Regions from separate parts of the Homo sapiens genome. Here all the other regions are linked to region 1. Evidence: promoter capture Hi-C in 16 types of primary human blood cells and fetal thymus (Javierre and others, 2016). All regions are on one chromosome and are shown on one strand. Each heading gives the region's core, a stretch centred on a gene start or on the middle of the fragment in contact. The rest is flanking DNA. Distances are from core to core; before and after follow the strand shown.

Evidence for each region. Contacts are between HindIII fragments. The CHiCAGO score rates a contact against its expected background, and 5 or more counts as called.
Region 2: a fragment that was not itself captured here is called in contact with the fragment with the promoter of PRDM1 in region 1 in 2 of 17 cell types (M2 macrophages and M0 macrophages); the score reaches 9.9 in M2 macrophages.
Region 3: a contact is called between a fragment that was not itself captured here and the fragment with the promoter of PRDM1 in region 1, in 2 of 17 cell types (neutrophils and activated CD4 T cells). The highest score is 6.3, in neutrophils.
Region 4: a contact is called between a fragment that was not itself captured here and the fragment with the promoter of PRDM1 in region 1, in 5 of 17 cell types (activated CD4 T cells, M0 macrophages, monocytes and 2 more). The highest score is 7.7, in activated CD4 T cells.
Region 5: a fragment that was not itself captured here is called in contact with the fragment with the promoter of PRDM1 in region 1 in 1 of 17 cell types (activated CD4 T cells); the score reaches 5.9 in activated CD4 T cells.
Region 6: a contact is called between a fragment that was not itself captured here and the fragment with the promoter of PRDM1 in region 1, in 1 of 17 cell types (activated CD4 T cells). The highest score is 6.1, in activated CD4 T cells.
Region 7: a contact is called between a fragment that was not itself captured here and the fragment with the promoter of PRDM1 in region 1, in 1 of 17 cell types (M0 macrophages). The highest score is 5.1, in M0 macrophages.

What each region holds. Positions count from the first base shown.
Region 1 is chr6:106,083,966-106,088,378 of GRCh38, reverse strand. PRDM1 (PR/SET domain 1) reads right to left here and starts at 2,043. Exons shown (of 7, transcript NM_001198.4): 1 at 1,784-2,043; 2 at 1-178. The coding sequence starts at 1,825. RefSeq lists enhancers at 1,696-2,415, 3,593-3,662. The HindIII fragment of the contact is 5,820 bases long and covers 1-4,330 here.
Region 2 is chr6:105,828,381-105,832,793 of GRCh38, reverse strand. LOC105377923 (a long non-coding RNA gene) reads left to right here. Exons shown (of 3, transcript XR_001744275.2): 3 at 2,601-3,029. Among named protein-coding and RNA genes, the nearest start is that of LINC02836, 200 kb to the right of the region's middle. The HindIII fragment of the contact is 3,141 bases long and covers 388-3,528 here.
Region 3 is chr6:106,327,006-106,331,418 of GRCh38, reverse strand. No RefSeq gene overlaps it. Among named protein-coding and RNA genes, the nearest start is that of ATG5, 3.5 kb to the right of the region's middle. The HindIII fragment of the contact is 3,241 bases long and covers 1,037-4,277 here.
Region 4 is chr6:105,849,912-105,854,324 of GRCh38, reverse strand. All of the region lies in intron 2 of LOC105377923 (a long non-coding RNA gene), which reads left to right. Among named protein-coding and RNA genes, the nearest start is that of LINC02836, 220 kb to the right of the region's middle. RefSeq lists an enhancer at 794-1,295 and a silencer at 3,124-3,324. The HindIII fragment of the contact is 8,272 bases long and covers 1-4,413 here.
Region 5 is chr6:106,285,874-106,290,286 of GRCh38, reverse strand. All of the region lies in intron 4 of ATG5 (autophagy related 5), which reads left to right. Among named protein-coding and RNA genes, the nearest start is that of ATG5, 38 kb to the left of the region's middle. The HindIII fragment of the contact is 1,101 bases long and covers 1,890-2,990 here.
Region 6 is chr6:106,268,509-106,272,921 of GRCh38, reverse strand. All of the region lies in intron 5 of ATG5 (autophagy related 5), which reads left to right. Among named protein-coding and RNA genes, the nearest start is that of ATG5, 55 kb to the left of the region's middle. The HindIII fragment of the contact is 1,490 bases long and covers 1,289-2,778 here.
Region 7 is chr6:105,909,432-105,913,844 of GRCh38, reverse strand. No RefSeq gene overlaps it. Among named protein-coding and RNA genes, the nearest start is that of PRDM1, 170 kb to the left of the region's middle. The HindIII fragment of the contact is 3,739 bases long and covers 1-3,710 here.

The DNA.
Region 1 (4,413 bases), core at 794-3,293:
CGCCATCAGCACCAGAATCCCAGGGGTGGTCGTTCACAATGTATGTACACTTCTCTTCAAACTCAGCCTCTGTCCACAGAGTCATATCCGCATCCTCCATGTCCATTTTCATGGTCCCCTTGGTCCCCTCTGCCAATCCCTGAAACCTCACAGTGCTGGAGTTACACTTGGGGGCAGCCTGGAAGAGAAAGGAAAGGCCTTTAATCCCCATTGTCCCGCCGTTCCTGTGGCTCCTTCTGAGAGGCTATGACTAATACAGTAGTCTGAAGACTTTAAAAGCAGATGCAGAGTGCTTGGTACAGTTGAGAAAGAGCCAAGAAGCCGTATAAAGTAAACTGCCTTGAAAAGAAGCAAGGTTTTTAAATGCTACTCTTAGTTAAAAAAAAAAAAAAAAAAAAGAATGTGGCAACCTCACTGTGGGGAAAAGGAAAAAAAAAAAAAGAATCACCTCTGAACAATCCCTGGCTTTACCTCTCATGGCAGAAAAATGTTCTGGGCACACAGTCCAGTGTCCCAGAATGCCTGGGGTCATGGCCGCCAGACCCTCGGCACTGTGGAAAAGCTGCCTCAGAAAAGTGTCACAAACAAGGAGAGGAAGAGGAAGGAGCTCTGTCTGCCTCTGAATGAAGCTAAAAATGGAAAGCGCGTGTGGTGCAGGAGCGGAACCCAGCCTGCCTTTTCCAAATGGGGAAGACCGAACTTTCCCACCAGCTCCCAACGCAAAACAACTTTCAAAACAACTGCCTCCTCCCTCTGCTGCGAGCTCTCTTTCATCCTCTCACATGGAAGACTGAAAAGGGTTGCATCCTGCCAGCATCACTGAGCTACGGCCTCTTAGAAATCACTTGGACCACAGGAAAAGAGGAGGAAAAATGGGTGAAGGGGAAAACAGCCTGCAGTGTCTTCTGACTTGCAAGCATCTCATACCAAATTGAAAAGGCAAAAACAAAACATAAAACCGTTTAATAAAATTCCCTGGAGAGAATTCCTTTAGGAGTCCTCAGCTACAAATAGCACTTTCCATTTAAATCTGAAAGTGTATGAATTCCCAGAAGTCACTGATGTACTACAGTTTACTGTAACTAAAGTTATAACAAATTTAGAAGACTTGGAGGACAAGCTCTGCTTCCACTTGTACATTGATGAGGATATTCCCCCAAAATCCTCCCTCACACTCAGAAAAAAACTGTTTTCCAAAGGCAAAAAAAGGTAAACAACTTCTGTAAGGGTTTTCTCATATAGACATGTTTGATAAAAATGAGGAATATGGGTATCATTTCCATGTAAGAATGTGTGTTTGTTCAAATGTAAACATAACATTCTGTGGAAGTCCTTCAAGGAGGTTTTTACATTCTTCCACTTCTCTAAATAGGATGCTCTTAAAAAAAAAAAAGTTGGATGCAAAGTTGTTTTTCCCTCAGTTATGATTTAAGCAAACCTGCTTATTTTTATTTAGTTCCAACATGTAGAGTCATGACGCCAAACACATGTTAAAAATAAAATAAAATAGAAAACTTCAGCCAACCCGGAATAGTTTGACGAGTGTGAGCTGGAACCACTACTGAAATTTCAATGAATTGGCAATTATGTCTAGAACTGAAAGGGTTAATGATTCATAAGGAAAGTCTCACAAATGTTTGACAGCACTAAGTGCACTAAAGCAGAAGCATGTTTCTACTGCGACATTAGCCAAAAAAAATTAATAATAATAACAATAAAGGAAAAGAAAATAAAGTTTTCAGATCAATTTCAGAATTAAAAAAAAAAAATTCAAGTTCCTTACCAAGGTCGTACCCACACGTTTTTCCAAGCAAATATCCAACATCTGAGAAAAGTCTCGTTCATCTCTACCCAGTCCACATTCTCCCCGCGTCCCCCGCCAGGCTGAGCCGCACAGACGCGCACCTCGGCGGTCCCTCCTCGCTTCGTCCGGCCGCCCGGGCGCCCGCGTCCCAGCTCCGGGCGGACAGGTGCCGCGGTCGCTGCTCTTGCCTCTCCGCAACACTGGAGGGCCGAGTGTCACGGCAGCACTTTGTCTGTGTTAACCGTCTGGCTTCCCCTCCCTGCTTAAGATTTCCTTAGCCACTCGGCTGCGCGAAGTGGGGGCGTGGCCAACGTGGCCAACACCACCTGGCCGAGCCCAGGGCTTTCCCCCAGATTGCTAGCACAGCCGCCGAGAGCTTCCTCTCTTCGCATGTGTATTTCAACATTGACTTGGAATCTTCTTACTTCCCTTTGAAGGCACTTAACCTCAACGCTTACTTGGGCTCTATTGTATTCTAAACACTCCAGATCGCCCTCCTTCCTGGCGCGGCAGAATTAGGGGGCGCACGTTCCTTAAATTAAGGAAACTTAAAATTTACCTACACAGTTTCTGATTTCTCAGCTCAAATCCCCAGGTACAAAAGACACAAATCTTACTTCAAAAGAGCAAGTTAAATTGTTTTTGCAGCTAGTGTAATACAGTGGAGCTGTCTGGTCCTCAAGCTGTTGTGTATGTAACGCACGTTTCCCCGCCCCCCGCCCCAAAAGTTGTAACATTCCGTTTCTCCTGCTAACGTTCAAACTTGGCAGAACTAACTTTCCTCTTTTAACTATTTAGTAAATAGGGAAATAGGCAAAAGTTATAATTCTACAGATTGTTTGTTTTCCTTTCCTCTCCTCCCAGAACCCACAGGCTGACTTCCCAGGAGTGTAAGTAAAATGTAGAGCATTAGTCGTTTCACAGTTCAGAGGAATATTGAACTGATCACTGCAAGTGGAAAGCGGTCGGAGGCAGTAATTAGTGGGGCTTATTCTGAGCCCCGGCCAGCTTTTCCTCCAGCCCAGTCAGTCCTCTGTTGAAGGAAGGACATCCTGTGATGATGGCATACAATGTCCTGTTTGTTTATTATTAAGAGCGTGGACCTTGCATTCCTGCTTCTCATTACAAAACAAACCAGATGCTTTACTTCCTTCAATGGTCTTGTGCCTTCAGCAAGGAATCCTTTAATTCAGAGAAACAATGTTTATAGCAAACACCCCATTTCAATTATTATTTAGATCATTGAAATCCAGGTCTTCCATTTTTCCTGCTTGCCTTACCATAGGTAGGTTTTTTTAAAATCATTTCTCCTTCGACCTGCAATGTCTTTTCTAACATTTTAAATACACGTGTGCACACACATCCACCCACACACACACCCACATACACACACCCAGTTCCAACCTAATGATACCAACTTAGTCATACAATGAAATGGACATCTGAGTATTTGTTTACAGGAAGAAATGAAACAAAGCAAAACAAAAGCCCAACTCAATCCTAAAAAATATGTCTGTTTATCTTTAAAATTTCTTTTCTCACTTTTAGAAAACTTTTCTAGAATTTTTTTTAGGGGAGAGGGGGAGAGGCAAAAGATTATTTGCCAGGAAATGGTGTCTAAAGTCTTGCTGCAATCTCTCTCTCAGTACAGAACAATTAAATTCCCACTAGGGGACATGATTAGCACACACTCGCTGCTTGCTGCGTGGCCCACCTGTGATTGCATGTTATGCCAGAGGGGACGCTAGCACCAAGAGGAAGCAGGACTTTTAGAAGGCAGATCTGCTGGGGGTGGAAAACTGAATGAACAATTCCTAAGAGTCCTCAGAAAGCTCCAAGCTGATAATTAAACAAGAGAAATCCAGCCTGCTCAAGAGGGTTTATTAACTGATGCTGAGTCAGCACCACAATGGACAGAAAAACAATGTAGTCATACTGAAGGCTGGCCTGCTGTTCAAACAGTCTCACTTGCAGATGTTAAAGAGTATTTCACTTCCCTTTTAGAATCAAACTCTGTTCTTAGGCCACATACACCATCATGCAACTGCTGGTGAGTCAACCATGATAGAGTAAGGGAATAGGCAAAAAGTTTGATATTTGAGGTGGGAAGAAGGCTATTTTAAGCCAAATATTTGCTTTAATGACTGGAAGATGCCAGTGAATCAACTCACTGTTAATTAATATCAGCCTGCACTCACCTTCAGAGGTGGTGAAATGGGCTTGAGTCTAGGGAGGACGCAAACTTCAAATACCAGTGTGGGGCTTAGCCAGGCAACCCTAAAATTAGTTCCAGGTGTCCCAGCTGAGCTGGACAAGGCCACGGGTAGAACTTTAAGGAAAGTAAATTTTCAGACACAGAGTGTTGGAATGTAAAGTCCTTCACATGTTTGCTTCTTGTCTCAAAGTGATTGGGAAAAAAAAAACCTCCAAACCAACTTTTGACTATGATTATAGTAGTCAATGATGGATATCATCATTTAAAATGAAAGCTACCAAAAAGGAAGAAGAAATAAAAGAAAGGAAGCTTGCTCCATAATAGGAAAAAACATGTCCATATTGTAATATTTAGGTATTGTCCAGCACAAAACCATTAAGGGGGAATAAAAGGG
Region 2 (4,413 bases), core at 709-3,208, 260 kb after region 1:
TCTACAGCAAGTAATCTAAAAGTGATTTTTTTCTTCTTCAAAGAAAATTCCCTTTAGAAAAGAAGGAAGTGCACCAGGACAAAGGCGGCCAACTGAGATCAGTGACTCAATCTGTTCCATAAATTATAGCTCTGAAGTCAGTTTGAGTGAGTGCTCACATTTCCAAAAACATAGACTGTCGTGGCACCTAAGGGTGTAGAAATTGCTACAGAGGCAATTAGCTTTATAAAACAGAAAGAATCACTAAGTGCATGAACCCTAAGGTACATGCAGGCCCAGAAATACATATTTCAACAGGGAATTGCCAAAGGGCAATGGTGCATTGAGAAATCCTCCCCTACTCAGCGGTGAAAGTTAAGTCTGTGGTATGTACAGATGAGGGAAGCTTGTCTGTGTGTGACCTAGGTTGAAGGGAGAAGGTAGAGACTGCGTGGAATGGCCAGCGTGCCATGTTCTCCTGAGCCAGAAGAGCCTAATGGGCCCAAATTGTCTGTTTCTATCGGGGGTGTTCCTTGGGCCTTTTTTCAAGACCACAGACCATAATTCCTGGGAAACTCTCACTTAAGTGGGTGCTCTTGACAATGAGGAAAACTAGGTGAGAGGCCGAGAGCTCATCTGGACAAGTCTGTGGTTGGTACATAGAGAGCATAGTTACACTGGGAAGAGGTGTTCCCTTGAGACATCTAGTCACACATTTTAAAAAAATCACTCTCTTCCTTAAACTTTCCTTTTGGAAACTTGGCCACAACAAAATGTGGATGTTAAAACCCTCTATGAGAAGTCCTTGGCCAGTTCTGTGGATGTATTTTCACAGAAGGTTTGTCAGTCTCACTCTCTCTCCCACTGTGCTGTTTCTTGTGTCTCCCAGCTCATCTCGTCCTCCATCCACACCATGGCTGTCTGATTCTTCCCTACTGATGCAATTTTCCTGGTGCTCGGAGTCTGTAGGCTCAGTCACTGCCTTAGGTGCAGAACTTGTCTAGTTCAGTTACCTTTTCTGCAGCTGAGAAAAAACACAGTAATTTCTGCTTCATTCTCCAATCCACAGAAGCTAAAATCTATGGAGCAGAGCTGTTTGCCTCATTAGCAAAAGCAACTGAGAACCCCCTAGGAAAAGTACGTTTGAGTCTCCTCCTACTCATAATATGGTTTCAGGGTATGATTTCTTTTTCTGTTATGTTTTCCATAGTAGTTTCATTTAGAAATGCCTATTAGAGTGAAGTTCTGCCATGTCTCACTAACAAGCATGCAGGCCCCTTGGGAGTTGAAGCCCGCCTTTTACTCGTCATGTATCACATGGATCCTGCATAATGAATGGAGCCTCCTCAGATATACTTTGTGGCTGATGAGTTAGAGAATTCTGAGACTGTAATAAATTATTCCCTCTTGAGTCTAATGTCCTTCCCTATTTCACCATTTCCTATGGTAGTTCTTTTAAATATCTGAGAAAAGGTAGTGGATTTATTACCTTTAAAACATAATCTAATAATGAACTCCTCCAGTTGGTTGGCCCTTCCCCTCCTCCAGCTGCCCCTTCCCCTCCTCCAGCTGTCCCTTCTCCTCCTCCAGCTGCCCCCTTCCCCTCCTCCAGCTGCCCCTTCCCCTCCTCCAGCTGCCCCCTCCCCTCCTCCAGCTGCCCCCCTTCCCCTCCTTCCACTGTCCCCCTTCTCCTCCTCCAGCTGCCCCCCTTCCCCTCCTCCAGCCTCCCCTTCCCCTCCTCCAGCTTCCCCCTTCCCCTCATCCACCTGCCCCTTCTCCTCCTCCGGCTGCCCCTTCCCCTCCTCCAGCTGCCCCTTCTCCTCCTCCCGCTGCCCCTTCCCCTCCTCCAGCTGCCCTTCCCCTCCTCCAGCTGCCCCTTCCCCTCCTCCAGCTGCCCCTTCCCCTCCTCCAGCTGCCCCTTCCCCTCCTCCAGCTGCCTCCCTTTCCCCTCCTCCTGCGGCCCCTTCCCCTCCTCCAGCTGCCCTTCCCTCCTCCAGCTGCCCCTTCTGAGAAACTCGCTGGGGATGATTCGAGTGGTTTCTATCATAAACATTTAAACATTTCAGGATGCTACTTTGGAAATGACAGTCTTGTTTTGCAAGGCACTTAAGTCTCTATTGAGATCCATTGAAACTTGTCATTGTGACTGCCATTTTACATTCTAGACTAACTAGAAGGCTAGGTTAGACTCACCTCTTTAGCTAGAATGCAGCTTTTCTACATTCTAGACTAACTTCCCTACCCCCCACCTCTAATAAATCTGAAAAGATTTAAAAACAGTTTACAATCAGTTATGTTATTAACAGTAGATGTGGTAACTCTTTGAGAAGGAAATTTAGTTTAAAAACATTTGCAGTTAGGTGGAGTAGATTTCTTTCCCATGGCAAAAGAAATTGTTACTGGAGCAGCTGAATCATTTCTAATAATCTAAAAGAAACATGTAATGGGCTGAGTTTTTCTGAGAGTGCTTCAATGTTTGTGCTTTTCTGGTTACTTATTTCTATCAGACTTTTACCTTCAGGTTAAATCTAAGTGTAAGGAGCACCAAGGCTCAGTCAGCATGTTTCTTAGCCCCAAATCAAGGCATGTGTTCTCTGAACAAGAATTTTTGTCTCTTCTAGATGCAAGAGGAAATTTGGAGATGTTGCTTGAAAGTTTAAAGTATTGGTGTTACCGAACCATTAGAATATTACATATGGACAACGCCCATCCATTAGAATATTACGTATGGACAACATGGTGGAACATTTCGAATAAGGTTTGTCCCACAAAATCCAATATAAATGTTTGCTTTTGTCCTTTTTAATGATATTGCATTTGAATTATACTGAGTACATTATGACATATGAAGCTCTCAGACTGTAGGATGGGAACAGCCAGACTTTATGCAGTGCAGGTGCTGGCAAACTTTTTCTGTAAAGCATCAGAGAGAACTATTCTGGTTTTGCAGGTCATGTGGTTTATGTCAGAACACTTGACCGTTGTAGCACAAAAACAGCTATAGACAAGAAGTAAATGAATAAGTGTGGCTCTCTTCCAAGAAAACTATTTAAGGCCAATGATTTGAATTTTAAATAATTTATATATTATTTTATATAACATAATTTTATTTAATTTATATATTATGAAAATCTTTATCTGATTTTTTTCAATTACTTAAAAATGGGAAGCCGTTCTTTAGCTTGTAGGCTCTATGAAAGCAGACTGTGTGCGGTGGCTCATGCCTGTAATCCCAGCACTTTGGGAGACCGAGGCGGGCGGATAACAAGGTCAGGAGATCGAAACCATCCTGGCTAACACGGTGAAACCCCGTCTCTACTAAAAATACAAAAAATTAGCCGGGCGTGGTGGCGGGCGCCTGTAGTCCCAGCTACTCGGGAGGGTGAGGCAGCAGCATGGCGTGAACCCGGGAGGCGGAGCTTGCAGTGAGCTGAGATCACGCCACTGCTCTCCAGCCTGGGCGACAGAGCGAGACTCCGTCTCAAAAAAAAAAAAAAAAAAAAAAAAAGAAAGCAGACTGTGGTCTGGATTTGTCCTGAGGGCCAAGCTTTGCTAACTCCCATTATAGTGAATTAGCAAGTTAAGGATCTGAACCCAGGAGAAGACAGAAGTAAGATGTCATACACATTTCTTGGACTGATTGACTTTCTTCAGCTAGTAAAACTTCTGAATATCATACTTGGTTGTGGTTTGAGTGCTTGTTCCTGGTGGGAGTAAATGAGTGTTTTGGGGAACAAAGGTAAGGGGATTTATAAACAAAAATTTATTCCTAATGATAGCACCTCACATTCGTGAAGAGCTAAGCTCCACTGGCCATAATATGCACGTTTAAGAGTCTCATAAAAATTTGGCCTGCTGTGAAAATGCTTAAAATCTACTCAGCAACTTTCAAGTATATATTTTTATTAACTATAGTCACCATATTATACAATGGATCTCTTGAACTTATTCCTCCTAACTGAAATTTTGTATCTTTTCACTGACATCTCCCCAATCCCCTCCCCTTTCTGCTAGCTCCTACTAATCACCATTCTCCTCTTTGTGTCTGAATCCAACATTTTTAGATTCCACACGTAAGTGAGATGCTGTGGTATTTGTCTTCCTGTGCCTGGCTTATTTCACTTGAACTAATATCCTCCAAGTTCATACGTGTTTTTGCAAATGACAAAATTTCCTTCTCTTTTGAGGCTGAATAGTATTCCATTTTGTAAATATACCATATTTTCATTATCCATTCATCTATTGATGGACTCATTGGTTGATTCCATACATAGTGCTACAGTGAACATGGGAGTGCAGCTATCTCTTTGACTTACAGATTTCATTTCCTTTGGGTATATATCCAGTAATAAAATTGCTGAATCATATAAGTAGTTCTATTTTTTTCTTTTTTATTATACTTTAAATTCTGGGATACGTGTGCAAAACGTGCAG
Region 3 (4,413 bases), core at 1,408-3,907, 240 kb before region 1:
TTTCAATATTGTAGTGTCTCAGGGAATAGGGAGGCTAGAGGAGAGGGAAAGAGACGGGGAAGGGCCAGTGGGCTGAGCAGTCAGAACACACGTGTTTATCAGTTAAGTTCACCATCTTATATGGATGTGGTTCATACTGCCCCAAAACAATTACTGTAGTAACATCAAAGACCACTGATCACAGATCACCATAACAGATATAATAATAATGAAAATGTTTGAAATATTGGGAGAATTGCCAAAATGTGACAGAGACATGAAGTAAGCACATGCTGTTGGAAAAATGGCGCCAAAAGACTTGCCTGATGCAGGGTTGCCATAAACCTTCAATTTGTAAAAAACAGACTCTGCGAAGAGCAATAAGGTGAAGCACTATATAACGAGCTATGCCTCTGTTATGCTTCAGTGGTGGTCAGGCAGCAACACATTAGAAAGACCACACTTCGGAAGCAGCTGAAGTGTATTTAAATTTATTTATTTATTTATTTTTGAGACGGAGTCTCACTCTGTTGCCCAGGTTGGAGTGCAGTGGCACGATCTCGGCTCACTGCAACCTCCACCTCCCAGGTTCAAGTGATTCTCGTGCTTCAGTCTCCCAAGTAGCTGGGACTATAGGCGTGTACCACCACACCCCGCTAATTTTTTTGTATTTTTAGTACAGACGGGGTTTCACCATGCTGACCAGGCTGGTCTGAAACTCCTAACCTCAAGTGATCTGCCCACCTTGGCTTCCCAAGATGCTGGGATTACAGACATGAACCACCGTGCCCAGCCCAAATCCCATATATTTTAGATTTTGCTAATTGCATACATGAGATCCCATTTTTAACATTTATCATACTTTTGGGGAAGCCAAAAATAAAAACCCATCTCTGGTGTTCACTATGCTAATTAGCAAACCAAGCGATGTGGATCAAGATGGTGATACTAGGCGTCCTTGTGATATGTGCTCCTGAAGTGTGGTCTTTTTAATGTGTTGCTGCCTGACCATCATGGAAGCCTAGAATTCTCAGTTTGTGTGAGTAGAATCGAAGCTTATGTACTACTACCACATTCATAATATTACATTTTGTATGCTGAAGTAGGTTAATGTATGTTACAGCAATCATACAGGTTCTCCAGTTCCAGCAGGTGGAACTCCAGTTTGTAGCCTTTTTGTATAGGAATTCATGCCAGCTTTGTAGGAGTCTCCATTCTAGCAGGGGAGAGGTATCATTTGAGTAAGGATAAACGGATAGAGGAACAGAAGTGTGGTTGTGTTCTGGGAATGCACTGCAGAGTGTGCAGCCAAATGGAAGAAGTGATGCCTTTCCCCGTACAGATCCTAAAACTGACACTGAGACAGGATACGGTGATGGCGGAAAACTTTAACTGCTAGTGACTGCTGGAGACCCACTCTGCTAATGGCAGTGCATCTCAATTACTTTCAACGTGACTTGCTGATTTTCTCCCTCAGACATCGATGAAGTAACAAAGAAAACGACCACTTTCTACCTAAACTCTAAGCTATATGGAACAATTTAGATTATGAGGTGAAACTGATGGGAATCCTAGAAGAGAGCGCATGTTCAGCTTAGGTTACTTTGACAAACATTTAATAAATGCCAGGCATTATGCTGGGCATTGGTGATCAAAAAATTACCGAGGAAAGTATGAGGACCAACAAATCCAAATTGGGTGGGTCAGGAAATACTTTCCAAAACATGAATTGAGTCTTAAAAATGAGTGATGTGTGCCAAGTGAAGAAGAAAGAATGTGGTGATGGTGCTGGTGGGGGTAGTGTTCCGGGCAGCAGGGACAACAGCAACAAAGTCATAGAAGCATGGCATAGCCTTAGGGCTCAGAAGTCTTACAAAATATTGGATACTGTTGGATTTTTTGAAGCGCAAGGCAGGGAGAGCAGGGGAAGGAAGCTAGAAGGAAAGAAGAAATTAGCCATAAAAGACCTTGTTTACCATGCTAAGAAATTTGGAATTTGCCTAGAAGGAATCAATAAAAGGTGTTAAACAGAAGAGTGACATTGTTAGAATGCATTTTAGATAACATACACTGGTTGGATGCTGGGACAGGTAGAGCAGGACTGGAGGCAGGGAGATGGGGGGAAGCTATCCTAATAGTTCAGAAGTGATGAAGGTTAAAGGAAGCATTTTAATAGGATGGGAGAACATTTGAGCATATGTATAGGATGAAGGAAGAAACTAGTAGTAAGGGAAATCTGGGAGATGGGATAATTAGTTGGAGCAGTCAGAAGTGTTAGAGCTGAAGTATTAATAGAAGAATTAAATTAGGCTTAAATCATTCCTCTGAAACCAACAGGACAGAGATAAAAGAGAGCAGAATGGGACCTTGGGTCAGGAAGTAATAGCATGATAACAAGTGATGGTTAGGGTTCATGGAGGCAGTCAAGATAACTTACATTTTAGGAAAGTAGATTTAAATAAGTTTAGAATAAAGTTACGATCCCACAGTTTTGAGTCTTGCACTTTGTGAGGTGTGCAAAAATAAAAGCCAGACTTTACAACTACAAACTATTATAGTGAAAAGAAAAGAGAGCAATTTATTAACAAAGACTTCTTTGGAGTCTCTCCTTAGAAACCAGAATTTGGGAGGAGTTGTGTACTTGACTTTTGTTGAAAAGAGGACTTTATAAACAAGTTCGCACGAGTCAAAGGCTGCCTGAGAGTGCCGAGACCAGCTCGGTCGGGCAGACCCTAACCCAGCGGCGCTAGAGGAATTAAAGACACACACACAGAAATGAGCTGAGAGCCCCGAACAGAGATTTACCCACGTATTTATTAACAGCAAGCCAGTCATTAGCATTGTTTCTATAGCTATTAAATTAACTAAAAGTATCCCTTACGGGAAATGAAGGGATGGGCCGAATTAAAGGAATAGGTTGGGCTAGTTAACTGCATCAGGAGCATGTCCTTAAGGCACAAATCTCTCATGCTATTGTTTGTGGCTTAAGAATGCCTTTAAGCAGTTTTCCGCCCTGGGCGGGCCAGGTGTTCCTTGCCCTCATTCCGGTAAGCCCACAACCTTCCAGCGTGGGCTTTATGGCCATCGTGAACACGTCACAGTGCTGCAGAGATTTAGTTGATGGCCAGTTTTGGGGCCAGTTTATGGCCAGATTTTGGGGGTCTTGTTCCCAACAGAGAGTCACCCCCAATAAGCTAAAACTTGGAGGAAATGGTAAGGCCAACAAAAAGAGCTCTTTAAAAGTTATCTTCATAGAAAAAAAATTAAAAATTTGCAGTGCCACTGATTTGGAGAAAAGGCATAATGTTCACAAATGGAAATGACAGAGACGAAACATACAATTCCCTTTATTTCCAAATTTTTGCTCAAGGAGCATGATCATCATATAGAAACAAGTGTAACAACTATTTAATAGGAATGCTGATAACTGGACCATATCCAGAGGAGAGATATGGCATGTGAAGAATGGCTGAAAGAAATGACAATGTTTATCCCTGAGTGCATTACGGGGCACAAGAGCTACCTTTTCATATTGAAATGCTGTCTTTTAGAAGAAGAGTTAGTTATTTCTGTTGTATGTTGTAGATGGGTGAGGAAGAGAGAAGGACAAGGGGAGAAAGAAAGAAAATGGTCAATTTATAAAAATTACAGGAAGTTGAATTTTAAGTCAAATCAAGTAATCACCTTTCACCTATTGGGTTTCTTCATACATAGTTTCCCCCAAAACAATTTTTTTTTTTTTTTGAGACAGGGTCTCTCTCTGTTACCTAGACTGCAGTGATACAATCATAGCTCACTGCAACCTTGACCTCCTGGGCTCATGTAATCCTCCTTCCTCAACCACTGGAGTAGCTGGGACTGTAGGCGCATGCCACCATGCCCTCCTAATTTTTGTGTTTTTTGTAGAGATGTGGTCTTGCCATGTTGTGCAGGCTGGTCTTGAACTCCTGGGCTCAAGCTATCCTCTTACCTGGGCCTCCCAAAGTGCTGGGATTACAGGCATGAGCCACTGTGCCTGGTCCCAACATTTTGTTAGGAAATAATTTTGAACACACAGCAAAGCTGAACAAATTTTACAGTGAATACCCATTTACAATGAACCTAGATTCTACCATCTAGATTCTACCATTATATTTTACCATTATATTCTACCATTATATTTTACTATATTTGGTTAATCACATATTTATCCATCTATGCGCCCCTAAATCCATCTTATTTTTTAGATACATTTTAAAGGAAATTTTATATACTTTTGTCTGACACTGGGAAGGCAATGCACCTTAATCCCACAAGCTTTCTTACAGAGGCTAATAGCTGTTTACTGGGGACACTGTAGTGAGGATTTCTGCATTGAGTAGGTGAAGAGGACCATAACTGTGGCTTTCAAACTTTTCTGACTGCTACCCTTACTAAGAAATGTATTTCACATTC
Region 4 (4,413 bases), core at 486-2,985, 230 kb after region 1:
GTGAGGAGCGCCTCTTCCCGGCCACCTTCCCATCTAGGAAGTGAGGAGCGTCTCTGCCCCGCCGCCCATCGCCTGAGATGTGGGGAGCGCCTCTGCCCCGCCGCCCCGTCTGGGATGTGAGAGCGCCCGGCCGGGACCCCGTCTGGGAGGTGAGGAGCATCTCTGCCCGGCCGCCCCATCTGAGAAGTGAGGAGCCTCTACGCCCTGCAGCCACCCCGTCTGGGAAGTGAGGAGCATCTCCGCCCGGCAGCCACCCCGTCTGGGAGGGAGGTGGGGGGGTCAGCCCCCCGCCCGGCCAGCCGCCCCGTCCGGGAGGTGAGGGGCGCCTCTGCCCGGCCGCCCCTACTGGGAAGTGAGGAGCCCCTCTGCCCAGCCAGCCGCCCCGTCGGGGAGGGAGGTGGGGGTGTCAGCCCCCCGCCCGGCCAGCCGCCCCGTCCGGGAGGGAGGTGGGGGGGGGTCAGCCCCCCGCCCGGCCAGCCGCCCCATCCGGGAGGTGAGGGGCGCCTCTGCCCGGCCGTCCCTACTGGGAAGTGAGGAGCCCCTCTGCCCGGCCAGCCGCCCCGTCGGGGAGGGAGATGGGGGGGGGGTTAGCCCCCCGCCCGGCCAGCCGCCCCGTCCGGGAGGTGAGGGGCGCCTCTGCCCAGCCGCCCCTACTGGGAAGTGAGGAGCCCCTCTGCCCGGCCACCACCCCGTCTGGGAGGTGTACCCAACAGCTCATTGAGAACGGGCAGGGATGACAATGGCGGTTTTGTGGAATAGAAAGGGGGGAAAGGTGGGGAAAAGATTGGGAAATCGGATGGTTGCCGCGTCTGTGTAGAAAGAAGTAGACATGGGAGACTTTTCATTCTGTTCTGTACCAAGAAAAATTCTTCTGCCTTGGGATCCTGTTGATCGGTGACCTTACCCCCAACCCTGTGCTCTCTGAAACATGTGCTGTGTCCACTCAGGGTAAATGGATTAAGGGCGGTGCAAGATGTGCTTTGTTAAACAGATGCTTGAAGGCAGCATGCTCGTTAAGAATCATCACCACTCCCTAATCTCAAGTACCCAGGGACACAAACCCTGCGGAAGGCCGCAGGGTCCTCTGCCTAGGAAAACCAGAGACCTTTGTTCACTTGTTTATCTGCTGACCTTCCCTCCACTATTGTCCTATGACCCTGCCAACTCCCCCTCTGCGAGAAACACCCAAGAATGATCAATTAAAAATAAATAAATAAATAAAATAAAATAAAATAAAATAAAAAATAAATAAATATTTAAAAGGTCAAAAAAAAAAAAAAAAAAAACCTCAATCCATGCCCAGACTTCCTGCCTGGGCCTAACAAAGAAGCCTTCTCCTGCAGACCCCAGGACAGCTAAGCCACTGAGCTGGTTCTTAGCACCAATCTTCTAGATCAGTTCAACTCAAATTCCTTGCCAGGCTTGTAAGATAAATAAGGAAGCAACTGAGTGGGGACCATGGGGACCTGTCTTAAGGGGCAGCAGCTACTGCTACTGAACCCCAACCACCACGACTATGTGGGAATATGACCCAGTGTGGCCAAATTTTCCAGTTTTTGTAAGGGAATCCCAAAATCCAGACTTTTATTTTCTAAATATTGACTCAAATTTGTAAAAAGCTCTATGTAGCCCCAACTAAACATGTCTGTGGGCTAGATTAGCCCTTTGGCCAGCTGGCCACCAGTTGACCATTTCTGTAGACAAGAGTCTCAGAAAGGCAACCACAGCCTCAACTGTTACAGGATTATTTTCTACCTAAAGAGGCATGTGCATAAATGGCAGGATGCCCAGCACACCTCATTTTACTGTGTTTCACTTTATTGTACTTCGCAAATATTGCATTTTTTAACAAATGGAAGGTTTCTGGCAACCCTGTGTCAAGCAAATCTATCAGTGCCATTTGTCCAACAGCATGCGCTCACTTCCTGTCTCTGGGTCACATTTTGGTAATTTTTGCGACATTTCAGTTTCTCATTATTATTATATCTGTTATGGTGATCTGTGATCAGTGATCTTTGATATTACTATTCTAATTGTTTTGGGGAGCCACAAACTGTGCCCATATAAGATGGAAAACTTCCAATAAATGCTGTGTGTGTTCTGACTGCTCATCAAAAAAAAAAAAAAAAAAAAAAAAAAAAAGAAATAGGGTTTGGGGAAGAAGGGGTACAGAGCATAGAGAGGGTACTTAGATTACTATTGATGATGTGGATTTATCTATTAGACTGTAGTGCACCCTATGGGGTGATAGTAACAAGGTGCACTTTTTAATGTCTGAATTGAATGGACATCCGGGCAGGCAGGGATATTCAGACCCACTGGCTGACATAGCTAGACACTCGTAGGACACACAGAAAACAAAGGGGAAGCATTAAATTAATACAGGATGCAGACGTGACCCACTTGTATCTGGTACAGATCAAAAGTCAGTATGTCTGCTGGGTGATGGGCTGGAATAAAGGGGGCAGCTGGGGAAGGCCGTGGAGAAAGTGGACACATGTTGCTGGAACACAGTGGGAATTCTTATGGCCACCACCCCATTCCGGGCTGCTGCCCAGTAAATATGTAGACTAGTCAATAGGGAAAGTGACCTGCCAAGTATCATGGCCAGACTCCTGGATTCTTAGTGGATTTGCCTTGGTTAGTGGCATTTCCCATCATCAGGTTTATTTCCTTGATATGAAATATGACATTCACATTTTTTCCTGAAGTTTATTGTGGAGAATTAATTTCTAATCAAGTTCCTGGTGCACAGTCCCACGACTCGGGACCCCATCTGCGTTGCTTTGGGGGCAGCCTCCAAAGCATCTCTTGGATGCCTCTTTTGTCAGCATCTCCTCTTCCCCTCTCAGAGTTGCAGGCAGATGTGGCCGGCAGAGAGAGGTTAAGGAGCCAGCAACGAAAGACAGCTGGGGATCGTTAGCAACAATCAAGGCGCGGCATTAAGAGGCAGCAGGGGTGAGTGTCTGGGTTCTTACATTGGCCTGCCTGAGGAAGCCATCTGGACGGAGGAGATTCGCCTTAAACCTTGGCAAGAGAACTTTGTTCTGTTTGAACTTTCTTTAAAGCCCCAGAGTGGGTGAGCATTTTGTTTAAACTTTCTTTAAAACAAAGAATAGGAGATCCCCTGCAATTAACAACAGGAACCTTCTTCCCCTTTTAACAGATTTGATAGGAAAAACCACAAGGACTGTTCTGATATCCATTAGCACGGTTCAGTTAGCAGGCTGAAAAGAAAGATACAAAGGAGTGGAAGTTTGCAGTCTTGGGAGCACCTAGGTCATATAAGAAAGGTCTCATCGCAGTGCGCTCCATCCTTAGTCGGACCTTCTCTCGTGTGGGGCCTATCCCCATTGATTGCTGAGGGCGATTAATTTTCAGCACAATTTCCTGTGTTCACTATTCGTCTTGGCATATGTATTCACACAGCACTCACAGATAATGGGATTTGCAACTCTGTCTTAAAGTGATTCAGTAGGGAAGTGCATCCTCTCAGCTGTGAATGCTCAGTGTTATGAATGCAGTGTTATGAATGTCTCAGTGTTATGAATGCAGCTACTTCTTCTAGCCCTATTTAATGCAGTTCTTCAAATATCAGACTTCAACTTAGTTCATAAAGGGATTTTATGAAGTCCAGCATTTTCTCTTTGAACCCAAAGGCTACCATTACTATTATCCAGAACACACATATTTATACACAGGAATGCGTCCACATGGAGTCCCCATAGGAAAGTTACCGGAGAAAAACCCCAATATCTGGCTGATGTGCCTGTGGCAGAAGCCTGTGCATCCATCTTGCACAAAATCAACTTCCTTTGGCACTTGGGCAAGCTCTTTCACATTATGGGCCCTACTTTCTGTCCTTGTCAGATGTCCAAGTTGGCAGCTTCCTGCTCTAATGCACTGTTGTTTTCCAGTTGTGAGTAGGATCTGATGCTAACCCTTGGGCCGTCATCCTGCAAGCAGTGCCCATTGCTACTCTCCCAGCTCATGCCCCCTCCCTGCCTAGAGCATTTTCTCCTTGCCTCTCCGGCCCCCTGCGGCCCTGCCCTTCCTCCTGGGCCACTTCTGCTCTGGGACAGCCATCAGGCCTCTGCCTAGCATCCCTCTGCCACAGTCCTGCATTTCCTCTGTGTTGCCATTGCTTGTTTCATTCCTTGCCTCTTTTATTAGCCACAAGTCTTACGGGGGCAGCGCCTTTGTCATGTCTCCTGTTGAGTCCTCCGTTGCCTAGTACAGGAGCTGCTGCACAGTGGTAGATAAGATTCAGTGACTCTTTTTTGAATGAAAGGACAAACTGAGAAATGAATGGATGAATAAAAAGAGTGAATGAATGTTCCCTCACTCATACACATTCCTAAGAGGCGAGTGCAGGGAATCCCAGAGGAGGGGATTACTGCCTCGCTGCAGGCC
Region 5 (4,413 bases), core at 1,191-3,690, 200 kb before region 1:
AAATAAAATAAAATAAAATAAAATAAATAAAATAAAATAAAATAGATAAATAAAATAAAATATATAAAATAAATAAAATAAAATAAAATAAAATAAGCCAAGTATGGTGGCATGCACCTCTAGTCCCAGCTACTTGGGAAGCTGAAGTGGAAGGATCACTTGAGCCCAGGAGTTTGAGGTTACATTGAGCTGTACCACTCACAGTGATTGCACTCTATCCTGGGTGACAGAGTGAAACTCTGTCTCAAAATAATAATAATATAATAAACTGAACTTGTTAAATTTGGTGTAGTATTGAAGAATATCCACAAAGCCAAAAAGGCTATTAAAATACTTCTTTTAAACTACATATCTTTGTGAGCCTGAATTTTCTTTATATACTTCAACCAAAACAACATATTGTAGAATATTGAACATAGAAGCAAGTTTAAGGTAATCCATTGGTTGTCTATTAAGGCATTAAAGTTATTTGCAAAAATACAAATTAGTGCCAGTGTTCCTGTTTTTTTTGTTGTTGTTGTTCTGGGAAACATAGTTGATTTTTGTGGAAATACAATTTTAGTGTTAATGTATAGTGGTTTTATTCTTGGTATTTTTAAGTGAATTAATGTTTTTTTTAAATGTTTCAGCTCTAATTTCTAGTGTAAATATCAGTAATATAATCCACATAAATATAAACTCTTTGGGATCCTTAGTAGGTCATACATTTTCTTCCCAGTAGAAAAGTTTATTAGCAAATAGAAAAAAGAATCTTACAGTTAATAAGGAAATTACAGAGAACATTTAGAGTTTGTTCAAGCTATCAGTGTGTTTCTTTCAGCTGTTCTTACTTATTCTTATCCTGGCCTGTTAGAGGAAAGTTATTGCCCAGATTTTTTTTTTTTCTGTATATACTAAGTTCCATTCATTTAGGGGAGCATCAGGACCTAGGTTACTTCAAAGGTTGTCTTCACATGTTTAATTGATAGCTTGTACTGATTGATGTAGGCCTGCCTCTATTGTACTGCCTTATAGATTTTTGATTGATTATAATGAAACTGGGTAAGTGTTAATTTTCAGGCAGAAAATCAATGCTTTTAGTGAGGAAGTGGTTTTTAAAGTTTGTAGAAAATAGTTTATACATTCAACAGATTGGATGTATTGAGTAACAATTTTGTGTCACTTGGTGTCTCTGCATTTATCTTCTGTGGTGTTGTATTGAGTATGCCAGATAATGTTGATGTTTTAACCAGACTTCTTAGAATTTCTTTTACAATTGTTTTCAAAGGTTGTAATAGATTTTGATTAGATTTTTTTGTGCAATATCAAAGCTTCTAAGAGATCCTGTTGCCTCTGCCACACACACACACACATTTGGATCAGTAGTTCAGACTAAACTCTTCAAAAAAACACTGTTAAACAGTTTTCAAACAGACATATTTCCTCTAATTTTTAACTGACTTTGATGTTTGTGATTTGTATAGGTTTATAATGTTTATAATAAATGCATTTTAATGTCTACAATAGTGATTTTCAAACTTTAATGTGCTTTCAAGTTACCTGTGTCTCTTACTAAAGTGCAGTTTCTGATTCTGCAGCATTGGGTTGGATTCAGAGAGATTCTGCATTTCTTACAAGTGCATAGGTAATGCTATGATATTGTTCCACCAGACCACATGTTGATTAACAAGAGTTAGAGAACAATGAAGATCTAAAAGTTAATGGTAATTGTCTGTAGAACCAAAAGCTTTTAAGGGTGAATCAGAAAATTAATATTTTTATAGGCATTTTTGTATTTTCTATTTTCTGGGAGATAAATATAATTGTAGAGTGTTAATTGCTTTATAACATATAGATTTGGATGTATGTTTTGTTTACCAAAACAATGAAAATGGTACCTTCTTCAAGCTTTTCTCATTGGTTTTTAAGGACATTTTGATTCCTAAACTTGGTGAGACTACCAAGAAAATTATCTCATTTCTGTGTCCCCAGTTTTTTATATTAAAAAATTTAAACATATATTAGAAAAATTAATTGTGCGGCAGGGCAGTGACTCATGCCTGTAATCCCAGCACCTTGGGAGGTGAGGCAGGTGGATCTCTTGAGGTCAGGAGTTTGAGGCCTGCCTGGCCAACATGGTGAAACCCTGTCTCTACTAAAAATACAAAAATTAGCTGGGCATGGTGGTAGGTGCCTGTAATCTCAGCTTCTCGGGAGGCTGAGGCAGGAGAATCGCTTGAACCTGGGGGGCGGAGGTTGCAGTGAGCCGAGACCATGCCACTGCACTCCAGCCTGGGCAACAGAGTAGACTCCATCTAAAAAAAAAAAAAAAAGTTAATTGTGGTCCAGTGAATACTCATAATACCTTTCACTTGGATTTGCTGCTTTTTAACATTTTGCCACCTTTGCGTTTTCTCTCTGTATTTTTTTTCATTAATTCTATAGGCATGCTGCTTGCAAAGCGACATTACAGTTAAAAGATTACTTACAGTATGTAGATTTTTTAAAATTAAAAAAATTTTTTCTCTCTTTGTCCATGTTGAGAACAGTGCATGGAATTTTTAAAAAAGGAGTTAATGTGATTCAAAAGTTTAATGACATCAGGTGAAAATAGTGGGGTCTTTAAAATGCCCAGTTCTGTTGCAAATCCTAAATAAAGTTTAATAGAGTAAACAAATCCTATAAAACCTTGGTGTTTTTCTTTCTTCCTCTTGGTAACATGGTGCTGATTTGGTGCGTTTTGGTTTTGAGGAGAGGAGACATTTTAATTTTGAATGTTGACAGCAATGATTAAGGGTAAGAGCTCACATTTGTTAAGTAAAATAAGATCAACATTCAGATAAGTGCTTATGTGCTGAACTCTGCTGAATGCCAGAGATAACACAAGTTAGGTTTTTGAACCAACTGTCTTTCAAGCACAGCAGGCAAATCCTGTTTTGCTTACCATGCTTGAAAAAGCCCTGCATTGGTCCTGACTGTTCCTTGAGTATTTTTGTGTGACTGAGCAAGCTTCTTTTCTGATGGACAAGTTTTTTCTTGCTAGGCCAAGAGCCACTGTGTTTCTTTGAAGGAATTTATCATGTCCCTCCTCCTGTTATGTGTTGTTGACATAGGTCTGTGGTAGCTTTTCTTTCCTGAAGTTCTTGAGTGTATTTCATGGTCTCTCCTTTGCTTCTATCACTGCCTGCACTTCCCAGCTATAAATGTTGGTAGCTGTTTTATAGTATCTATCAATAGTATGTTGTATTAGTTATCTACTATTGTCTGACAAATTACCACCAGCTTAAAACAACATTTGTTCTCTGACAGTTTCTGTGGGTCAGGATTCTGGGCATAGCTTATACCTGGATCTTCTGCCTAGGTTATGAGGGTGCCATCAGGGTGTTGGCTGGGCTGCGTTCTTAACTGGAAGTTCAACTGAGGGAGAATCCACTTGTAGACTTAGTTTGCTGGCAGAATTCATATCCTATGGTTGTAGGATTGAGGGGCCTATCTTCTTGTTGGCTGTCAGTAATAAGCTGCATTGACCACCTAAAGACCATGTGAAGTTCTTGTCATGTGGACTTTCCCAACATGCCTACTTGCTTCAGGGCAACAAAGAAAGTCTAGAGGTAGTCTGGTAGTAAGACAGAATCTTACTGTATAACATGACTTAATCACTGGGGTAACATCCCATCACCTTTGCCGCATTCTTTGAGTTAGAAGCAAGTCACAGGTTCTGCCCACATGCAAGGGGGAAGGGATTATAGAAAGATAGGAATACCAGGTGGTGGAAATCATGGAGGGTCATGCAAACTTAGAACTTTATGAAGTAAGGCTTGTTTAGTCATTTATTCATCAGATATTTATTGATGTTAACATATACTTTTAGCCGTGACAGAGTAACTGGTATTTGAGTTTTCCTCTAGTCATCAACAATTAGAAAACAGGACCAAAAATATGAAATAGAGCTGTTTTTAGCACTGAACCTTAGAAAGGGAACAAACAAGGTGAGCCCCATGTGCTTTGGAACGGTTGCCTGACGGTGGTACGGAGAGTGGAGCTCAAGCAGAGCAAAGAAGTTCAGTTGAGCTGAGGATGCACAAATTGGAGTTCTGGGCTGCTGAAGTGGTTGGAACTTGCTAGGCAGGGTATCAGAGAAGGAGGAGCCAAAGTGTACGTGTATGTTCTCCCTGGGTGCTTGGCTGAGGCCTGGGTTGCACATGCATAGCTGATACTCTGCAAGGTCTAGTAGATAGTGGATGTTGTAGGGTTAAGAGTGGACAAAAGATACTGAACGTCTTATGATGCTGGGAAATGTTGGATTCCAGCTCATTCAAAGTGGAGAGACATCTGGCTACATACTAGGCAGTTACTTGAGATGCCAGAAAGGCCATGATTTTGGAGTAAGGATCATACATCAGAGCAGGAGTTGGCAAATGTGGTCCACTGACT
Region 6 (4,413 bases), core at 784-3,283, 180 kb before region 1:
CTGTGTGAGTTTTTGGAAATTTTTCTTTCTTCCATTGCCACAAATATTTCTCACAGATTTTATACTCTCATGTTTAATCAAGTCTTGGAAACAACATTCATTGTCTTTGATCTTCATGGCTGCAAATTCAGTCTTCATTATAGGAGAATCATGCCCGGACCGTAGTAGTGTGGATTAGCTAGCCAGTATAAGAACCTACTATGTGCCAGCCTCTGTGCTAAGCACAGGGGACGCTGGGGTAAATATGACAGGCACGATCCCTTCCCTCTGAATGTGTAGGGTAGCAGAGGAGCCAGGCATTAAACAGATCACTTTTACGTAATTGTTACATTTATAACTGGAGTTGTAGAGGAAGGAGGAAGGGCTAGAGAGAGTGGTGTGGTTGTGATGAAAGTTGTTTCAGGCTGAGGGAATGATCTGGGCTAGGTTCAGAAGCAAAGAGCCTACTAAGTTCTGAGAACTGACTAGAATGTGGTGATCAAGATCGAGAGTGGTAAGGAGGTCAAACTGGAAGTCAGGCAGAGACGCTGCCTGTTCAGGGCTTTGTAGGCCATTTTAACAATATTGAACTTAATCCCTGGCAGGAGGAACAGAGAGTGGGATGGTAGGAGACCAGTGAAACATTTTAAGCAGACCTATAACAGAATCAGATTTCCCTTTTTAAGACATCCCTTTGGCTGCAGTATGGTTAATGAATTAGAAAGAAGCAAATGGGAATTGAAAAGGACCAAGTGGGAGTCTATACCAGTGGTCATATCAGACCAGTGGTCTATACCAGTGGTGATATGTATTATGTGTCCTATGATGATGAGTGCCATGAGAGAAAAAGCAAAGGAAGATGAGAAAGGACTTTGTTGGGAAAGGGCGTTGTTATTTTAAATAGGATGGTCAGGGAAGTCCTCACTGATTGGATGACATTAAATGAAGACCTGAAGCAGTTTAGGAGATCATGCATATTTATCTGGGATTAAAAACTTCCTAGGCAGAGGGAACAGCAAGAGCAAAGGCACTAAAGTGGGAATATTCTAGGCACTTCCAGAGAACTAATCCTATGCATAGCTTTTAAAAGTGTAGATAAACACAGGTTTTTCTTCAAGGATACCCTTCTCTATTTCCCACCATTTTTTTTTTTAAAGCATTCTGTGTAGCAAAAATGGCACTTGTCTATATCTAGTTCTTGTGGGATGCAAAGCATTTTTTTGGCAGTTGGTTTTATGCTGTTTGCCATTAGCAATTATCATGTCTTGGATGAACCTCATTGGTTATGATATTGCCAGTACACAAAGCTTCGTTTATACTATTTTGAAAGCAATAAAGTGCTGAGAATATTGACCAATTAGAATTGGACCTGTTTACATTAAGGTGATTAGGGAAGACGTCTGATTATTTTCACAATCTAGCGGCTAGAGAGTCCAAGAGGAAGGTGCCTGCAATTCAGTGTCTGATGAGGGCCCTCTTCCTGATTCATAGCTATCTTCTCTTTGTGTCCTCACAGACTAAAACAGAGCTTTCTCTGGGGTCTGTTTTCTAAGGACAGTAATTCCATTTATGAGGACTCCGCCCTTATGACCTAATCAGCTCCCAAATGCCCCACCACTTTATCTATCATGTTGGAGGTTAGGATTTCAACATGAATTATAGGGGGATGTAAACATTCAGTCCACAATAGGTATGTTTTGAGAAGTCAAAAGAAGATAAGCATGTCTTAGGTGTAGTGACTGAGGAGGAAGTGTGGCCCGAGATGAGTTTGGAGAGATGAGAAAGAACCAAATTATCTAAGGCCTTGTAGGCCAAGGAAAACAATTTGGATTTTAAGCTATTGGAGGACTTTTAAGCAGGGGAGTGATGAGATGTAGAATATGATATAAGAGCTGTTCAATGTAGAATGGAATAGGAGTCCAGAATGAAAGTGGCTCTAGTAATAGTCTTAGGTATAAGAATATGGTGATATTTAGGGTGATGTTGGGAGAGATGGAGAAAAGTCAGTAAATTTGGGGCTTATTTTAGAGGTAGATTGGCAGAGCCTGTTGTTAGGCTGGATGTAGAGGATGGGTTAAAAACAAGGAAGGAATTATTCCTGGGTTATGATTTGGGCAGCTGCATGGAGAGTGGTGCTTTATACTGAGATATGAAATATTAGATAATGAGATGGGAAGTAAAGCCTATTTGAGAGGCCATCTTGGAGGCTAAAAGTTTGAGATGTCTAATGAGGCATTCATGTAGAGATACACTGAATTAGATTTTGCTAAAATTAAATATTGTGAGTGTGGGACAGCAGATGGAGAATGCATAATAGACTAGAATCTAATGCTGCAGCTTCTAGTTTCGTACTGTGTTTACTTTGCAAATTAGTATAGGAATTTTAGCTTCAGGAATATGGCAGTGAATGTGTCACAGTCATACAAAGCAATGAAATATGGAGCCACCTCATTTATGTTTGCTTTTTTTGTACATATAGCTGAGCTAATTAGGTCATTTTTGTTATTATTATTATTTGCCTGTAGTACGTTTTGCAGGAAGGTGAATAATTCCAACCTGAAACTCTGTGTGTGGCATTTAAGAATCTACAACTTCGTGAGAAAGTTGCTTAAAGCAAATTTGTAACCTGCTTGAGCATTCAATTAAGTTTTACTATGGAACAAACAAGCATTTTACTATATATATTATATATTTTAAATCAGTCTCTTGGTGTTCTTTCTGTAATTAAAAATAATGGTGAGATTTTTAGAGTTCATGCATTTGCATTTTAATATAAAGCAGTAAAAAATTTGCTAAGCTTCTGGAGAAGGATTGCTCCTGAAATTACTTGATTTAAGTGAATAAATTAACTTTGTAATAATTTGGACTATAGCCTTCTACAGTGTTTTGGGTAGACTTGGCAGTGAGTATCATGGATAATAAAACTTGGTGAAACATTTAGGCAGTTATTTCGCAGTGCAATACAGATTATACTAATGAGAGGTGACAGCGTGCTGGCAGTCCTCACAGCCCTTGCTCGCTCTCGGCGTCTCCTCTGCCTGGGCTCCTACTTTGGGGGCACTTGAGCCCTTCAGCCCACCGCTGCACTGTGGGAGCCCCTTTCTGGGCTGGCCAAGGCTGGAGCCGGCTCCCTCAGCATGCAGGGAGGTGTGGAGGGAGAGGCGCGAGCGGGAACCGGGGATGTGCGCGGCGCTTGCGGGCCAGCTGGAGTTCCGGGTGGGTGTGGGCTTGGCGGACCCCGCACTCGGAGCAGCCGGCCGGCCCTGCCGGCCCCGGGCAATGAGGGGCTTAGCACCCGGGCCAGCGGCTGCGGAGGGTGTACTGGGTCCCCCAGCAGTGACGGCCCACCGGCGCTGCACTCGATTTCTCACCTGGCCTTAGCTGCCTTCCCGCGGGGCAGGGCTCGGGACCTGCAGCCCGCCATGCCTGAGCCTCCCACCCCTTCCATGGGCTCCTGTGCGGCCAAGCCTCCCTGACGAGTGCCGCCCTCTGCTCCACGGCGCCCAGTCCCATCGACCACCCAAGGGCTGAGGAGTGCGGGGCACGGCGCGGGACTGGCAGGCAGCTCCACCAGCAGCCCCGGTGAAGCCAGCTGGGCTCCTGAGTCTGGTGGGGACGTGGAGAACCTTTATGTCTAGCTCAGGGGTTGTAAATACACCAATCAGCACTCTGTATCTAGCTCAAGGTTTGTAAACACACCAATCAGCACCCTGTGTCTAGCTCAGGGTTTGTGAATGCACCAATCGACACTCTGTAACTAGCTACTCTGGTGGGGACTTGGAGAACCTTTGTGTCGACACTTTGTATCTAGCTAATCTAGTGGGGATGTGGAGAACCTTTGTGTCTAGCTCAGGGATTGTAAACGCACCAATCAGAGAATGGAAAACTTTTATTTTATTTTACTTTAAGTTCTAGGATACATGTGCAGAAGGTGCAGGTTTGTTACATAGGTATGCATGTGCCATGGTGGTTTGCTGCACCTATCAACCCGTCATCTATGTTTTAAGCCTTGCATACATTAGGTATTTGTCCTAATGTTCCCCCTCTGCTTGCCCCCAACCCACCGACAGGCCCCCGTGTGTGTGATGTTCCTCTCCCTGTGTCCCATGTGTTCTTGTTGTTCAGCTCCCACTAATGAGTGAGAACATGTGGTGTTTGGTTTTCTGTTCCTGTGTTAGTTTGCCGAGGATAATGGCTTCTAGCTTCATTCATGTCTCTGCAGAGGATACAAAATCATTCTTTTTTATGGCTGCGTAGTATTCCATGGTATATATGTGACACATTTTCTCTATCCAGTCTAACATTGATGGGCATTTGGGTTGGTTCCAAGTCTTTGCTATTGTAAATAGTGCTGCAGTAAACATACATTTGCATGTGTCTTTATAGTAGAATGATTTATAATCCTTTGGGAATATACTCAGTAATGGGATTGCT
Region 7 (4,413 bases), core at 592-3,091, 170 kb after region 1:
GTAAACAGACAACCTACAGAATGGGAGAAGATGTTTGCAAACTCTATGTCCAACAAAGGACTGATATTCATAATCTATAAGTAATGCAAGCAGTTCAACAAGAAAAAAATAACTTCATTAAAAAGTGGATAAAGGATGTGAATAGACATTTCTCAAAAGATGTACAAGCAGCTAACAAACATGAAAAAATGCTCAACATCACTAATCAGAGAAATACAAATTAAAACCACAATGAGATAGCATCTCATACCAGTCAGATGGCTATCATTAAAAAGTCAAAAAACAACAGATGTTGGCGAGGATGCAGTGAAAAGGGAATGCTTATCTACTGTTGATGGAAGTAAATTAATACAACCTTTATGGAAAACAGCATGGAGATTTCTCAAATAATTAAAAATAGAACTGCCATTTGACCTAGCAATCCTAGTACTAGGTATCTATCCAATGGAAAAGAAATTGGATATCAAAAAGACACTTTCACTCGTATATTTATCACAGCATTATTCACAATAGCAAAGTCATGGAATCAACCCAAATGTCCATCAATGGATGATTGAATAAAGAAAATGTGAGATATATATATATATATATATATATATATATATGAATACTATGCAGCCATAAGAATGAAATCATGTCTTTTGCAGCAACATGGATGGAGCTGGAGGCCATTATCCTAAGTGAAATAACTCAGAAACAGGAAATCAAATACTGTATCTTCTCACTTATAAGAGGGGGATAAGCAATGGGTGCACATGGACATGCAAAGGGAAATAACAGACACTAGAGACTCCAAGAAGGAGGAGTTTGGGAGGCAGATGAGGGCTGAAAAATTACCTATTGGGTACAGCATTCACTATGTGGGAGATGGGCACACTAGAAGCCCAAACCTCACCATTATTCAATCTATCCATGTAACAAACCTGCACATGTACACCCTGAATCTATAAAAATAAAAAAAATTTAAATAATTAGGGTTTGGGCATATAGATTGTTTTGAAAATATTAGCTGTGTTTATTTCCTTCCCCTTAATAAAATATTCTCCCTGAGTTCTGCCTGCAAACTGTGTCAGAATGATCTTTAGAGTTTGGTATTTAAACCTGAAACAGAAAACAGAATAAAGAATTAACTATCGGCCGGGTGCAGTGGGTCACACCTGTAATTTCAGCACTTTGGGAGGCCAAGGCAGGCAGATCACAAGGTCAGGAGTTCAAGACCAGCCTGGCCAATATGGTGAAAACCCATCTCTACTAAAAAAATACAAAAATCAGCCGGGTGTGGTGATGTGCGCCTGTAGTCACAGCAACTCGAGAGGCTGAGGAAGGAGAATCGCTTGAACCCGGGAAACGGAGGTTGCAGTGAGCCAAGATCACGCCACTGCACTCCAGCCTAGGCGACAGAGGGGGACTTCATCTCAAAAAAAAAAAAAAAAAAAAAAAGGAAAAAAAAATGCAAGATTAGGAATCTAGGGAAATGATGAGGATTATTATATCTTTGCTAGAGGCATATAATGAAATTATTATACTATATAGTAAATCACATAAAATAGGAAATAATACCATTTATTTGCCTTGAAAGATATACAAGTCCTATATTGACAGCAAATGTATTATTGCTTCTAAGTCACATGAGACCTAAATATTCCTGCCTCAGCCTGGGTTCCTAAAAAAGCAGAGTCTGAACCAAACTTATAAGTGCAATTATTCCAGGAGGCACTAGAGAAGGAGGGAGACACAAAGCAGATGTGTAATATAGAGTCAATCACCCTGTGGGCCACTGGTACTTGATCACCCTGGGTCTGCTTGAGAAACTGATTGAAATGGTTTTCCATTTCATTTGGAGGTTGCAGGGGGGAGAAGATGGAAACATTTATTAATCAGTTCCTAACCCCATTGGTCAAAATTCCACCCCAAGTGTGTTAAAAACCCCTCTCCCCAGACTCAACAGGGAAGCCCTGGAGTGGGAGGCAAGAGGCTTGTTTAAGGAATGGTTCTTTGGGTTACACTTATGTGAGGTTGATTGGAGTCTGTGCAAAACCAGTCGCTACAGTGGTTTTTGGAATAAGTGAAAGGTGGGGCAAAGAGAATCTGATACAGGGCACAAAAGGTATCACACACATCCTTCAACCTTACCATCTTATGGGGACAATAAATTTACATTAACATAATTACCAGAATCTTGCTGCCTCCAAGCTCCAGCTAGCTCACTTGGGAACTCCAGGACTTTGCACAGACTTCCTTCCCCAAGTGTTGAATAAGTCCACAGAGGGTGCCTAATAAAAGCTCTGATGGTGCCCCTGACTACAAAATTCCTGGCTTCTGCTGTACTGCCAGTTCCTTATCTGACTCCAGAGCTGGCAGTCCTCCTGCTTCTCCTCAGGAGTTTGGCATTCTCTTGCAAAGTGGGAAGAATGTTGTGCCTCCGGAGAATTGCTTGGACCTATGGAACATTATAGAACTTAATGAGCCTGCACTTTCCATGCATAAGGCCAGTGAACCCAGCCACCGTGCATCCCTGGGGTGCTTGTGTGCCTCTAGGAGAGCTGGGGAAAATGATTGATGTGCCAGCTGCCATGCCATAGTCAGGACTCACCTCTGCTCAGGAGCTCAGGGTCTGAAGGGCATTGTGGCTGGCATGGCTGGTTTTTCACATTACTTTCCTTTATAGTTAACTTCATTTTCGGGTGTGTGTGTTTGCACGTGCACTGGTTTCTCTTCCTCTCTTTATTCTTCTTTATTTTCATTCCTTCCCTGCCTCCACCAAGTCTCCCAGATATGTCTCAAATATCTAATTCTCAGCCAGGGGCATGGCTTGAGATTTTCTCCAGGATTCTCCTTGGTCCTTATGTAAATTATGAGGGCAAATAGATACTTGGATGGGATTTGGATATCGCCAAATTCCACACGCCAGAGACACATGTATCTTGGCTCTGGCCCAGGTGGGATCTAATCTGTATCACAAGTTATATATCTTATCTCTACTATCCTAAGGACTCTATGGATCATTCCATAGATGAAGCTGAATAAAATCCTTATGAATATGTATAGTTGACCTTTGAACAACATGGGGGTTGGGGCTCTGACCTCCCAAGCAGTAGGAATCTACATATAACTTTAGACTCCCCAAACACATAACTACCAATAGCCTATTGTTGATTGGAAGACTTATTGATAACATAAACAGTTAACACATATTTTATATGCTATATGTATTATATGCTGTAGTCTTATAATAAGATAAGCTAAAGAAAAGAATGTTATTAAGAAAATCACAAGGAAGAGAAAATATGTTTACTATTCAGTAAGTGAAGTGGATCACCATAAAGGTCTTCATCCTCATCACCTTCATGTTCAGTAGGCTGAGGAGGAGAAGGAAAAAGAGGGGTTGGTCTTGCTGTCTCAGGGGTGGCAGAGGCTGAAGAAAATCCAATATAAATGGACCCATGCAATTCAAACCTGTATTGCTCAAGGGTCAACTGCATTTAATTTAGAACAGAACAAATCTTTTCTTCTAAATGCAGATGATCCAAATTCAAAGAAAAAAAGAACATGTATTTTACCTTAAACACTAGTAGACTTAAGTTAGGTGAACCACCTTAAGTGTGTATCAGCCAGCCTAGGCTATGTCTTTGTGACCTGAGGGATAGAGGAAAATAACAAGACTTTAACATTCCTACTTTGCTGCTGGAGAATTTGAGGCACGAGAAGCTTCAGACATAGCCTAGCACAGTGGTTCTCAAACTAAATCTTGCATCAGAATCACTTGGAGCGCTTGTTAAAACAGATTGCTGGGCCCCACTCCCACATACTCTGATTCTGTAGGCCTGGGGCTGGGCCCGAAAATTTTCATTTCAAATAAGTTCCCTGGTAATAATGACACTGCTGGTCCAAATACCATACTTTGAGAACCGCTGGTCTAGTAGCTTCAGCTTGAGATCAGATGACTATTTTGGTTTCTTTCTTCCAGGCTAGATCTTGTTTCATGGCACTTTCTCTAGTAAAGTTGGCGCTTAATAAAGCTGATCATTTTCAAATAGATTTTAATTGTGTACTTTTGGCATTAATAGATAAAAGACCAGAAAGCAGGTAGTACATCCAAATCCAAACTAGAGGAAAGTATTTTTTGAAAGAACTCTTAGTGCTATATATCAGGATTTGGCAAATTACGGTCCGTGGGCCAGATCTGGCCTACCATTTTTGCAAATAAAGTTTTATTGAAACACAGCCATGCACATTCATTCATATAATGGATGGTAGGTTTTGTGCTACAACATCAGAGTTAAGTAGTTGCAACCAACAGAGGCTGTATTTACTAAAATATAAAGTATTTACTTTACAAAAAACGTTTGCCAACCCCTGGTCTATATGTCTTTCTGAGCAACTCTTGGCTGATTTAGGGAAGTTTTCTCTTGA